Regions from separate parts of the Homo sapiens genome. Here regions 1, 3, 4 and 5 are each linked to region 2. Evidence: promoter capture Hi-C in 16 types of primary human blood cells and fetal thymus (Javierre and others, 2016). All regions are on one chromosome and are shown on one strand. The core of a region is centred on a gene start or on the middle of the fragment in contact, and the rest is flanking DNA. Distances in the headings are between cores, read along the strand shown.

The links. The method cuts DNA at HindIII sites, captures the fragments that hold promoters and counts their contacts. A CHiCAGO score of 5 or more calls a contact.
Region 1: a contact is called between a fragment that was not itself captured here and the fragment with the promoter of IL17F in region 2, in 6 of 17 cell types (activated CD4 T cells, total B cells, non-activated CD4 T cells and 3 more). The highest score is 6.9, in activated CD4 T cells.
Region 3: a fragment that was not itself captured here is called in contact with the fragment with the promoter of IL17F in region 2 in 3 of 17 cell types (total CD4 T cells, naive CD8 T cells and total CD8 T cells); the score reaches 5.9 in total CD4 T cells.
Region 4: a fragment that was not itself captured here is called in contact with the fragment with the promoter of IL17F in region 2 in 1 of 17 cell types (naive CD8 T cells); the score reaches 5.3 in naive CD8 T cells.
Region 5: a fragment that was not itself captured here is called in contact with the fragment with the promoter of IL17F in region 2 in 3 of 17 cell types (naive CD8 T cells, activated CD4 T cells and total CD4 T cells); the score reaches 5.9 in naive CD8 T cells.

Annotation. Positions count from the first base shown.
Region 1 is chr6:52,698,795-52,701,494 of GRCh38, reverse strand. No RefSeq gene overlaps it. Among named protein-coding and RNA genes, the nearest start is that of TMEM14A, 29 kb to the right of the region's middle. The HindIII fragment of the contact is 238 bases long and covers 1,198-1,435 here.
Region 2 is chr6:52,243,126-52,245,825 of GRCh38, reverse strand. IL17F (interleukin 17F) reads left to right here and starts at 1,326. Exons shown (of 3, transcript NM_052872.4): 1 at 1,326-1,429. The coding sequence starts at 1,397. The HindIII fragment of the contact is 13,260 bases long and covers 1-2,700 here.
Region 3 is chr6:52,618,932-52,621,631 of GRCh38, reverse strand. No RefSeq gene overlaps it. Among named protein-coding and RNA genes, the nearest start is that of TRAM2-AS1, 43 kb to the right of the region's middle. The HindIII fragment of the contact is 3,333 bases long and covers 1-2,700 here.
Region 4 is chr6:52,636,450-52,639,149 of GRCh38, reverse strand. No RefSeq gene overlaps it. Among named protein-coding and RNA genes, the nearest start is that of TMEM14A, 33 kb to the left of the region's middle. The HindIII fragment of the contact is 6,545 bases long and covers 1-2,700 here.
Region 5 is chr6:52,653,258-52,655,957 of GRCh38, reverse strand. No RefSeq gene overlaps it. Among named protein-coding and RNA genes, the nearest start is that of TMEM14A, 17 kb to the left of the region's middle. The HindIII fragment of the contact is 525 bases long and covers 1,095-1,619 here.

The DNA.
Region 1 (2,700 bases), core at 67-2,566, 460 kb before region 2:
CACACCTGGGCTTTATGGTACAGTCTATTACTATTAGGCTACAAACCTGAACAGCATGTTACTGTAGTGAATACTGTAGGAAACTGTAATGCAATAATAAGTATTTGTGAGGCCGGTTGAGGTGGCTCACACCTGTAATTCCAGGACTTTGGGAGGTTGAGGTGGGTGGATCACCTGAGTTTGGGAGTTTGAGACCAGCCTGACCAACATGGAGAAACCCTGTCTCTACTAAAAATACAAAATTAGCTGGGCATGATGGCGCATTCCTGTAATCTCAGTTACTTGGGAGGCTGAGGCAGGAGAATTGCTTGAACCCGAGAGGCGGAGGTTGCAGTGAGCCAAGATCATGCCATTGCACTCCAGCCTGGGCAACAAGAGTGAAACTGTGTCTCAAAAAAAAAAAAAGTATTTGTGTATCTAAACATAGAAAAGTTACAGTAAAAATATAGTATTATAATCTCATTGTATAAGCAGTCCATGGTTGACTGAAATATTATGTAGCACATGACCGTAGCCAATAGCCACCTCCTGTGCCTGAAATTTCCTTGTGTTATGAGTCAGAGTAAATTTTCAAAAGTTTAATAATTATGCTCTAAGATTTACAATTTTGCTGAAATGGCTGTGCTTTGCTTGTCTTTGGAGCCCCTGCTGTACCTAACACAGCTCCTCACACAATTAGCCTTTAAGCAAAAGATAAAATTGAAGATTTTTAAAAGTTCAGGAGCGAAACCTCTTTGGTGTGATCCGGCGAAACTCAATCAAAACGTAGCAGAAAATTCTTCAGATAGTATCTAGTCTGAGAAATCTGGATGTACCCCATATAGTTTCATGTCCAGACCTAGAACTGTGAATGCCAGCAGGCTGGACTGCCTCCTATTTCCCACAACCCTACCTCTCCCTCCAACCTGCCACCCTCCCGCGGTCTGCCCACCTCCTCTCAGGGCTTACCCTGGTAAAGCCCTTGTTGGAATTGGAGATTGAGCTCTGCCTCTCTGATTCTTGGAGACTCGCCGGATCAGATAGCCTAAGTTACCTCAGAGTTCCTGACATGAAAAATTGTAGGAGAAACTGAAATCACAAATGTATGCATTTTTCATCACACTTCATAAATATTGTAAGTTGTAAGTAAATAGTGCTTAGGAAAAAATAAGTAAAGTAAAGCATGTTTAGGAAAAAAATGCTGCTTTTTGGAAAGCTTTGTTTTATACCTTGGTAATCACTGTCCATATTCTCATATTTGTTAACTTTGGAATATGATGACTTCCTTTTATAATAATTATTTACATAAAATTACACATTTACCAAGATGATAATATTGAAGATGTAGTAGGCTTGGTGAGAGGGCAACCTAGCTCTGGTTCTTCTACCATTTAGCTGAAAGACTTTAGGCAAGTCACTTGACCTCTCTAGGCTTCCTAAGCATCCAAAGGAAGCTTTGGTTAAGAAGAGCTCCAATATTATAATGTCAGCTGCTGCCTTTCCTTTTTTCCTGGTGAAAATATGAGAGAGAGAAAGAGACCCACCAACTCTCTGAAACATGGAAGTGTTTTGGAGCATCGAAGGTAGTGAAGAGAAAACATCTAGTACTGGGGATTGTAAAGCAGACCCAGAGAGAACTTATTTTGCAAAAACAAAGAGCAGAGGGGATAAAGACGAACTCCCTCCCCATATTCACACTCACACTCTACCCTTGCATACAGATTATTTTTAAATTTAGTAAGCATCCAATTTCTACTTCTGAATGCCACATTTCTGTTCATTAAGACATAGTCATAAGGAAAATAATATGTCTACTAAACATCTGCTCATTTTTAGAGAAAGGCCAATATGGGTGGCTGAAAATTTTTATCCGTATTTTCTAATTTTTCTACAATGAGTTTTAGCACTTCTGCAATAATATTGAAAATATTTTTAAATAAATAAGGGGAAGAGAGCTTTACATCCATCTTCTTTGTCTTATAAAAATGGCAGAATTCCCTGAGACTGAAATGTCTCTTACTCTTGTGTTTGAGAGTTGAAGTTAATGCTGGTCTTCAGGTATAGGAATGAGAGTGATAGGACATCAAGGTTTAACACTATTTAACATTAAGTACTTAGGAATTATGACCAGGAAGCTATGTATTAGCATCTTCTCTGAATATTTTTTATTACTCCAAATTGTAAAATTTAACATTTCAAATTATTTTTTATTGTAAAACGGATAGAATACAATCTGGGAAAAATAATATTTTCCAGTTTTTGTTGGGTTTTTACATCTCTATGCTAGAAAATATTAATAATACAGGAAAACTAATTGTATTTCAATTTTATGTTAAAATTATGCTATACAAAATGCACACATTTAATTGGTAAATGTATTTTAAAGCGAAAGTATCCAGAAGTTAATTGGTAACAATCTAACAATAACACTGATTAAAAACTCTTGTGAGTGGTAAGAAAAGATAGCTTGATTTATGTTTCTTTAAATATGCAACAAAGGATCTTTTAAGTTAATTTTGTTTTATTATTAGATTGTTACCAAGTAACTTCTAAGATTAGCTGCAACTTAATTCCTATGTCTAAGCCTCTTTGGCTTAAAGAGAAGGTATGTAATGAGACAATCAAATATTTGCCTGTTCTTTAGCACTAGGAATAAGGGGTAACAAACACCACCCAAGGGAAAGTTATGAGAAAAAAAATAACAAAGGTCAAATACTGAGC
Region 2 (2,700 bases), core at 77-2,576:
AAGAAAAATCTGAACAGGCAGGCCTGGCTGAATTTCCTCATTCAACCTGTTAATATCAGGTTATACCCTTTTTATCCAATCACATTTGTTTACAGTTTTCCATGTTGTAATCATGTCTGCCCAATGAAGACTCCATAAAAGGCCCAAGAGGATGGGATACAAAGAGCCTTTGGACCGCTGAACTTGTGGAAGTTCTAAGAAAGGTAAACAGTAACTCATCCCTGTGCTGGGAGGGTGGTGCACCCCAGCTCCATGGGAAAGAACACTTCTGTGCTTGTGACCCTTTCAAACCTTGCCCTGTGTACCTTTTCATCTGGCTGTTGACTTGTATCCTTAAAAATATCCTTTAGAATATACTGGTAAATATAAATTAGTGTTCCCTAAGTTTTGTGAGCTGTTCTAACAAATTAATCAAGCCTAATCAAACTCAAGCGGTTTGTGGGAACCTGAACTTGAGGCCAGTCAGTCAGAAGTCCCAGAGGCTTGGACCTGTGATTGGTGCTTAAAGTGGGAGCAGTTTTGTGGGACTGAGCCTTCAGCCTGTGGGATCTGACTCTACCTACCTGGAGATAGCGTCAGAATTGAATTGGATTAGAAGATGCTTAGCTGGCGTTGGATGCAGAATTGATTGCTTGCTGGTTGATGGAGATAAATGCCCACATACATGGTCATGGAAATCTTTTGTGTTGCTGGTTGTGGTGTGAGAGCAGAGGAAAACAGTTTGTTTTATCAACACAATGAATAGTGATTATTTATTAAGCACCAGTAGGAGTCTAACCATGGGGTTAAAAAATAATTAGTTCAGGGAGATAACAAAACTACCAGGGTATATCATTTCTGAATTTTTCACTTATGTCATTCATTTCTTTAGTTTTGTTTTCCCATTCATAAAATGGAGGTAAAGATAGTTTAGTACCAAGGCTCCTCTAAGGATGAGTTTTCTCCCATTTAAATCACGATTCATATTGCGTGACTGGAAAGTAGAACATATGGTCCGTGACAAGGGTGTTGGCAATTTGTGGAAGAACAAAAAAGATTTGACAACAATTTCTAACTTGGTTCATCTCTGTAGTAAATTAAAAATTTTGCTCTGATTTGTGGGCAATGGGGGTGGAAGTAGGGTAGAAGGAAAGAAAAATTTGGTCCTTTTCCTGTCATCCCTTTCTTTAGGGTCCCCCTTTTGTTCCCCTTCGGGAAATGGAATAAAAAAAAAAACCCCTGCATTCGTCAGTAACTCCGGGTCAACCACAACTTAAAGACAGTAAGCAGGTCAATCGAAACAGGGGCAATGATTGCTATAAAACTAACAGGTACTCTCATTGATAGAACACAGGCATACACAGGAAGATACATTCACAGAAAGAGCTTCCTGCACAAAGTAAGCCACCAGCGCAACATGACAGTGAAGACCCTGCATGGCCCAGCCATGGTGAGTAGCAGCAATCATTCTGGTTTAAGGACTGTCATGCCTAGGATTTCAGAAAACAGAATCCTAAGGAATTAGGTTTGATTGGGGTCTTTTTGGAATTACTTCTTAAAAAACAGAGATGACTTTAATTTTGACTCCTGTCTGGTGGAGAAAAAGAAAAAAATAACTAGAAAAGTTATAATGGCATAAAAATGCAGCTCCTGGCCAGGCGTGGTGGCTCATGCCTGTAATCCCAGCACTTTAGGAGGCCAAGGCGGGCGGGTCACATGAGTTCAGGAGTTCGAGACCAGCCTGACCAACATAGCGAAACCCGGTCTCTACTAAAAATACAGAAATTAGGTCGAGCCTGGTGGCTCACGCCTGTAATCCCAGCACTTTGAGAGGCTGAGGTGGGTGGATCACTTGAGGTCAGGGGTTTGAGACCAGCCTGACTAACTTGAAACCCTGTCTCTACTAAAAATACAAAAATTAGCTGGGCATGGGTCAGTTGCCTGTAATCCCAGCTACTCGGGAGGCTGAGGCAGGAGAATGGCTTGAACCTGGGAGGCGGAGGTTGCAATGAGCCAAGATCACGCCACTGCACTCCATCCTGGGTGACATAGCGAGACTCTGTCTCAAAGAAAAAAAAATGCAGCTCCTCACCCAATGGCTTTTGCCCAGGTGGTGTTAGTGTGTGCCCAGGTGGTGTTAGTGTGTGCAGTCCTTGGCATCACAGACAACTAGCATGTTCTTTCCTGTGGCCATCCATTATAGAGTCAGGTTGGCCTGAAATTCTTATCTCATGGTGGGAGCTTGGCCAGCACTTTAGGGATTATGTACATATACATTTTAACCAAGGAAACTGGGGCCTCAAGAGGTTTAATGATTCCCCTGAGATTACAGGAGTGCCCTGGATGGAAGAAATGAAATCACCCAGTGTTGACTTTGGACAGCTCCTAGAGAAGGGAAATTTCCCATGTCTCTGATTGCTATTTATTTATTTTGTACCATCTCATTCTTCTTGGAGGAAAGAGAGATGTTAATGCAATGAAAATCTAGCCCCAGCAGGTCTGGAATCTTGCCTGACATTAGTCAGATAAGGCCTGAGAAGAATTTACTATAGAGGTACATGAAAACAGGGGTTAGGAAATCCCGCATCATATTATTGGCTTAGATAATTTCCTTTTTTTCTCCTTTTACAAGCCATACAACTTAAAAGAGCTTGAATATCATAAAAGGTTCATGGCATATAGCAATGGTATGTTTTATTTTATATTTATGTGTTATTTTAA
Region 3 (2,700 bases), core at 125-2,624, 380 kb before region 2:
CACCACCTCATAAAGTATTTTTGAATGATAAATAAGATCAAACACTTTATTTTTTTTATTTTTAGAGACAGTGTCTCACCCTGTCACCCAGGCTGGAATGCAATGGCACTATTATAGTTCACTGCAGCCTCAGACTCCTGGGCACAAGCAGTCCTCCAGCCTTGGCCTCCGGAGTAGCTAGGATTACAGACACACACCAACATGCCAAGCTATTTTTTTTTTTAATTTTTGAGACAGGATCTCACTATATCACCTAGGCTGTTATAGTTGGAGAACTCCTTGCCTCAAACAATCTTCCTGAGTGGCTTCCCAAAGTTCTGAGATTGCAGGCATGAGCCACCATGCCCAACCTACTTTTTAAAATGTATTGAACAATTTGTATTTCCTTTTTGGCAAACTATCTGTTCTTATCTTTTCCAATTTTAAGTTAGGTTTTGGCATTTTTTTATAATTGAACTGAAAGAGTTAATTTTATGTTATAGTAGATGCCTATTGGCTTGCCTGCCTAATACCCCTTGTTAGGAATTGCCCTCCCCTCTATGCATGGTTGCAGAGGGGCAGCCATAGGATCACAATGAAATTCCCACCCCTACCTTCACCCTGACCACAGTCAATTGCTCCTGGATGGGCATCAGTCCAGACTGTCATTCACAGCCTCCCCAGGGACTTGAAATGAGAATCAACAGAATTAGGTTATTTCTTCCCCAGGTAACTGGACCAGTTGTGGTAAAACTTGAGTGCTGCTGGGGCCCTTTGTTCACCATGTGCTCTGAGAAACAGAGATGGGGTTCTATGGAGAGAGGCAAGTATGAAGTGGAAAACAGAGAAAGAGAATAACCTCAGATGCTTATAACACTCCAGTCCCTGGTTCTATGGTCCAGCTCCCTCTCCACCCTTAGCTAATTTCAACTTTAGTTCAAATGGTTCTCTGTTACTTGGAAATCAAAGTACTAATTAATAAGTATATTTATTCAATCATTTAACAATAAATACTGAATACCATATGCAGACATTGCCCTAGATGCTGGAAATATAGGAGTGATCAAAGTAGACTCTGTCTCAAACTTACATTCCAGAGGCAGGGAGACAAAAAACAGAGGAATGAGTAAACATATAGTGTCAGTGGGGATTAGTAGTATGGAGGAAAATAAAGCAAGTGCCAGGGAAGAGGCAGCCCTGCTGAAAAAGAAACAGAGAGGGTTGAAGAAAGTGGAGAGGGCCTTAAGGCAGAAGGAGCAGCAAAAACAAAGGCCCAGGAACAGGAGTGTGCCTGATGGGTTGCAGGTACAATGGTCAGTGTGGCTGGAGTGGAGTCATTAAGGAAAAGTGTAGAAAGAGACAAGGTCCAAGAGGTGGCCATAGGGCTTTGAGGCCACTGGAAAGACTTCGGCTTCTACTTGGAGTGTGATGAAAGCTACTGAAAGGATCTGAATAGAGGAGGGAGGTGATCTGCTGTGTGATAAGTAACCACTCTGTCTAAATCTCTTTGTCATGTATGTTGAGGAAGTGCCTCTATTTAATTGGGATGATGCTGGGTTTTGATCTACAGAAGCAAGACGTATGGAGGCTCCAGGAGTTCCCATCCTTCCCCTGCAATTGTAGAACTCAGAAGCCCCGTGAATCAGTTTTACTTTTTTCCATGCTCGAAATATAATATTTTCTTTCATGACCTCTTTCTTTGTTTATGCTTAGAATATTCCTCTCTATAAATATTAATATCTTAATCTACATTTTCAAATAAAAATATATATCTTATGTTTATACAGAAATTTTTTTCTGAACTTCAATGGATACAAAGATGTATGGAAATTGTGAAGTCAAAACACTGAAATTAAGTTTGGCTTAGTTGTTGTTTTCATATAATCTTTTGTTTAAAAATATCATCTATTGTTCACTCTGATGGTAGTTTCTTTTGCTGTGCAGAAGCTCTTTAGCTTAATTACATCCCATTTGTCAATTTTGGCTTTTGTTGCCATTGCTTTTGGTATTTTAGACATGAAGTCCTTGCCCATGCCTATGTGTAACCTGCACGTTGTGCGCATGTACCCTAAAACTTAAAGTATAAAAAACATATATATATCATCTATTGGCTGGGCGCGGTGGCTCATGCCTATAATCCCAGCACTTTGGGAGGCCAAGGTGGGTGGATCACCTGAGATCAGGAGTTCAAAACCAGCCTGGCTAACAATGGTGAAACCCTCGTCTCTACTAAAGATACAAAAATTAGCTTGGTGTGGTGGCATGCACCTGTAATCCCTGCTACTCAGGAGGCTGAGGCAGGAGAATAGCTGGAACCCCGGAGGCAGAGGTTGCCGTGAGCTGAGATCACCCCACTGCACTCCAACCTGGGTGACAGAGTAATACTCCATCTCAAAAAAAAAAAAAATCACCTACTGATAATCCTTTCTTCCATCATTGGATTGTGATATTTCATTCACATATATAGAGAGAGGTATATAGATTATCTGTTTTAGACTTATTCTTTTACATTAATTCCTATTTTGACTATTGTATTGATACCACAAAATTTTTAAAATTGAAGCTCTGTGCTACAATTTTACGTATAATAGTTCATTTTAACATATAGTAGAACAAGAAAAAAAATCTTGATGTTTCTCTTCAGTCTATTCTTCCAAGTGAATTAGAATCATGTTCTCAAATTCTAATAATAAAATAAAATTTCACTGGGATTTTTTATTG
Region 4 (2,700 bases), core at 189-2,688, 390 kb before region 2:
CGCCTGTAGTCCCAGCTACTTGGGAGGCTGAGGCAGGAGAATGGCGTGAACCTAGGAGGCGGAGCTTGCAGTGAGCTGAGATCGTGCCACTGCACTCCAGCCTGGGCAACAGAGCGAGACTCTGTTTCAAAAAAAAAAAAAAGTGGACCAACCAGCGCTCTGTAAAGTGGACCATTCAGCAGGACATGGGTGGGGCCAAATAAGGGAATAAAAGCTGGACACCCGAGCCAGCAGCGGCAACCCACTCAGGTCCCCTTCGACACTGTGAAAGTTTTGTTCTTTTGGTCTTCACAATAAATCTTGCTGCTGCTCACTCTTTGGGTCCGCACTACCTTTAAAAGCTGTAACACTCACTGCGAAGGTCTGTGGCTTCACTCCTGAAGTCACGAACCCACCAGAAGGAAAAAACTCCGGACACATCTGAACATCTGAACGAACAAATTTCGGACACACCATCTTTAAGAACTGTAAGACTCACGGCGAGGGTCCGCGGCTTCATTCTTGAAGTCAGCGAGACCAAGAACCCACCTGAAGGAACCAATTCTGGACATACTAGCACTTTGGGAGGCCGAGGCGGGCAGATCACCTGAGATTGGGAGTTCAAGACCAGCCTGACCAACATGGAGAAACCCCGCCTCTACTAAAAATACAAAACTAGCCGGCCATGGTGGCACATGCCTGTAATCCCAGCTACTCAGGAGGCTGAGGCAGTAGAATCACTTGAGCCTGGGAGGCAGAGGTTGCGGTGAGCTGGGATCGCACCATTGCACTCCAGCCTGGGCAGCAAGAGTGAAACTCCATCTCAAAAAAAAAGAAAAAAAAAAGAAAGAAAAACAAAAGAAAAGAAACTTATTCAGAGTCACATAGAAAACAATTGGTAAAAACAGTATTCTAACCTAAATCTGCCTCGTTCTCTCTATTCATTTATCTTCTAAAACATGATGCAGAGAAGTATTAGTATAAACTATCGCTGTAATTCTTTGCTTGGTGAAATAGCAAAAATATTGAGATTATTTTAGAATAAATAATTAGTCCTGGGTATCTTCTTCTAAAAGGCAATGTTTACTAGTGGAAAAGCCCTAAAAGATGACGCCCCGCTGATATTTAAAAATGACCAAATTTATTCAATAGATCTCAATGAGTCAAATTCTGATATTCCATTGAAATCCCTGAGAAGGCAAGAAAATGCTACCAAATCATGAGACCTGTCAAGGGGAGAAGAAAGGCCTTTCATTAGAAAGTGAACATTCAATCATTCTTGGCTCACAAACATGTAGGGAACTGTTGGGACCTATGTCTTAAGCAATTTATTACCAATAACTGAAGCTAGCAAGTGATTACTCAAATATGACTGAGTGCTCAGTACAGTATACGTTCTACTTTTTTGTGTGCTTGAAAACTTTCATAATAAAAAGATTTAGATTTTGTTTCTTTTTAATTTTCCTTATTTTTGTTGAAGTATAATTTTTATATAGTGAAACGACAGGTCTTAAATATACAGTTGGACAAGTTTCAACAGTTGCATACATCTGTATAACCCACATCCCATTAAGATATAGAATATTGCCATAACTCCCAAAATTTCCATCATGCCATCCCAGTCAATCTCTGTCCACTCCCTGCCCCACTTGAAACCACTGTCCTGATTTCTTTTGCAATAGATTGCATTTGCCTGTTTCAGAACTTCATATAAATGGAATCTTACAATATGTACCCTTTTGTGCCTGACTTCCTTTCACTCGGTATAGCAATACTGAGGCCTATCCATGTGTCGTATGTATCAGGAGCTATTGTGTTTTTGTTATCTCCGAGCAGAACTCTGCTGTATGTAAATATCCATGTTGTTTATTCATTCCCCTGCTGATGGACATTTGGGTTGTTTCTAGTTTGTTGCTATTTTTGTTGAGGCCAAGGCTGGGAAAAGAGAAAAGAGAAAAGAAAAACATTTTTTGAAATCTAATTTTCTTCTTGGAGTATTCAGTATTATGAATAAAGCTGCTATGGACATTCATGTACAAGTCTTCTCTGTTTCCAGATGTTTTCATTTCTCCTGAGTAAATACCTAGAAGTGCATTTGCCAGGTCATAGAGTAGGTGCATGTTTAACTTTATGAAAAACTGCCAGGCCAGTTTTCAAAGTGCTTGCACAATTCTACATCCCCACCGGTAATGGATGAGAGTGCTCATTGCTCCACATCCTTGCCCATATTTGTTGCTATGAGTAGTGGTATCTCATTGTGCTTTAATTTTCATTTCGTTGATGCCTAGTGATTTTGAGTGCTTTTTCATGTGCTTATTGGCACATCTTCCTTTGTGAAGTGCATGTTCAACTCTTTTGCCCACTTCGTTTTTTAACTTAAAAATCATATAATCTCAACACCCAGCCATAACCTTCATTAACGTCTTGGACTTTTTCTGTGTATTTACTTATTTATGCCAATATATTTATTACAAAAAAGGGTTCATTTTGTAACCTTTTTCATTTAACAATTCAATTGGTCATGAACATCTTTCCCTATCACTAAATATTCTTCTGTGCCATCATTTTTAAAAACATGAGTGTTCATTGTAGCTTTATTCACAATTACCCAAACTGGAAACTACCCAAATGCCTTTCACTTGGTGAGTGGATAAACAAAATGTACTGTCTAGCTGTACAATGGAATGCTACTTAGCAATGAAAAGGAGACAAACTACTGAT
Region 5 (2,700 bases), core at 108-2,607, 410 kb before region 2:
CCCCTACTGGGAAGTGAGGAGCCCCTCTGCCCGGCCAGCCGCCCCGTCCGGGAGGGAAGTGGGGGGGTCAGCCCCCCGCCCGGCCAGCCGCCTCGTCCGGGAGGTGAGGGGCGCCTCTGCCCGGCCGCCCCTACTGGGAAGTGAGGAGCCCCTCTGCCCGGCCAGCCACCCCGTCCGGGAGGGAGGTGGGGGGGGTCAGCCCCCTGCCCCGCCAGCCGCCCCATCCGGGAGGGAGGTGAGGGGGTCAGCCCCCCCGCCCGGCCAGCCGCCCCGTCCGGGAGGGAGGTGGGGGGGTCAGCCCCCCGCCCGGCCAGCCGCCCCGTCCGGGAGGGAGGTGGGGGGGGTCAGCCCCCTGCCCGGCCAGCCGTCCCGTCCGGGATGTGAGGGGCGCCTCTGCCCGGCCGCCCCTACTGGGAAGTGAGGAGCGCCTCTGCCCGGCCACCACCCCGTCTGGGAGGTGTACCCAACAGCTCATTGAGAACGGGCCATGATGACAATGGCGGTTTTGTGGAATAGAAAGGGCGGAAAGGTGGGGAAAAGATTGAGAAATCGGATGGTTGCGGTGTCTGTGTGGAAAGAAGTAGACATGGGAGACTTTTCACTTTGTTCTGTACTAAGAAAAATTCTTATCCTGTTGATCTGTGACCTTACCCCCCAACCCTGTGCTCTCTGAAACATGTGCTGTGTCCACTCAGGGTTAAATGGATTAAGGGCGGTGCAAGATGTGCTTTGTTAAACAGATGCTTGAAGGCAGCATGCTCGTTAAGAGTCATCACCACTCCCTAATCTCAAGTACCCAGGGACACAAACACTGCGGAAGGCCTCAGGGTCCTCTGCCTAGGAAAACCAGAGACCTTTGTTCACTTGTTTATCTGCTGACCTTCCCTCCACTATAGTCCTATGACCCTGCCAAATCCCCCTCTGTGAGAAACACCCAAGAATGATCAATAAAAATAAAAATGAAAATTAAAAAAAAAAAAAAAGAAAGAAATACCTGAGACTGGGTAATTTAGAGGTTTAATTGGCTCACGGTTCTACAGGCTGTACAGGAAGCATAGCTCTGGCATCAGCTTCTAGCGAGGCCTCAGGAAGCTTACATTCATGGTGGAAGGCAAAGCAGGAGCAGCCGCTTCACATGGCAAAAGCAGGAGCAAGGTGGGGGAGGTGCAACATACCTTTTAAATGACCAGATCTCATGGGAACTTACTGTCATGAAGACAGCACCAAGCCATGAGGGATGTGCCCCCATGACCCAAACACCTCCTACCAGACCCCACTTCCAGCATTGGGAATTACATTTCAACATGGGATTTGCGTGGAAGAAAATATCCAAACTATATTAATGTCTTTTGCCCATTTTCTAACTGGAATTTTTTCTCTTACTGTTTAGTTTTGGGAGTTCTTTATATATTCTAAACACTAGTCCTTTGTCATATGTGGTTTGCAAATGTTTTCTTCCAGTCTGTATTTTCATGCTCTCAGCAGTCTTTTGCAAGGTAAAATTTGAAATTTTGATGTGTCAAATTGGTCAATTTTTCCTTTTGTAGTTTTGGGTTTGATTATCCAGCATTATGAACTGAATAGCCTCTATATCAGAGAGTCCCTCACTACAAAAAGCTTTCACGTTAAAACTTTCCAGCCAGATAAGGATATTCATTTTTGTTTTCTTCTTTCATTGTATTGACCTTTTAAAGATGTTTGTGGTTTTAGAGATTCCCTGTGGACATATAGAGACTTAAAGATTCCAAAGATTTGAACTGCAGGACAGCTATGACTTATTATCAGACTTTGTCCTTGACATTACAGACAAGATCTTCTCAAAGAAAGGGCTCTCTGCTAGAGGGCACATGGAGTTGATGGACATAAGGATAATTTCTGAACTCATATACAGGCTACACAAATTCATCAAAGACACAGCCATTGTGTAAAGAAAAAAAAATGTCACCATAATAGGAAGAGGTCAGAAAAAGGCTCAGATATCTCAAGTGCAATTACTATTCATTCATTTAAATGGAGTCCCTACTTATTCATTTAAAAAATAAAATAGGGAGAACTTAGGTGCAGTCCACGGGGGTTAGTCATTATGGGCAGTGCAGTGTGCTTTTTAGAATGTAGAGAAAGAAGGAACTTTTATATGGCGAAGCAATGAGTTTCCGGGTACTGGAGGTTTTCAATAACCAGACCCTGGACCACCACTTGGCAGGGATGTTGCAGAGGTGACTCAGGCACTACAAAGTAAGGTAGACTAGGTGAGCTTTGAGGATCTATCCAATCCTGAGTGCCTCTGGTGTCATGATCCTTCTCCAAGGTAAGATATAGAACTATCCTGGAGAGGAAGAACATAGGCAGGACAGATCCCAAGAAGCCTGAGCAAGGCACCAGGAAGGAGCCAGCTGACTGGAGAGGGCCTCCTTAGAATAAGTTGGATTTATGGAGCTGGGAAAGACTTTGGAGGAAGGCTATTCATGCTCTTGATAAAGAGATGGAGAAACTGTTAGTCAAATAAGCTGGGCTATAATGTATTAAAAAACAAAGTATGAAATCTCAGTGGTTTAACAGGAGGATAGTTTATTGCTCACTTGTGCAATTGCACATAGATGTTCCTGGTCAGTCAAGTGATGACTCAGTGATCCAGGTTCCTTCCATCTTGTCTGATGGCTCTTCAACACATGGCCTCTAAGGTCAATGTGAAAGGGAAAC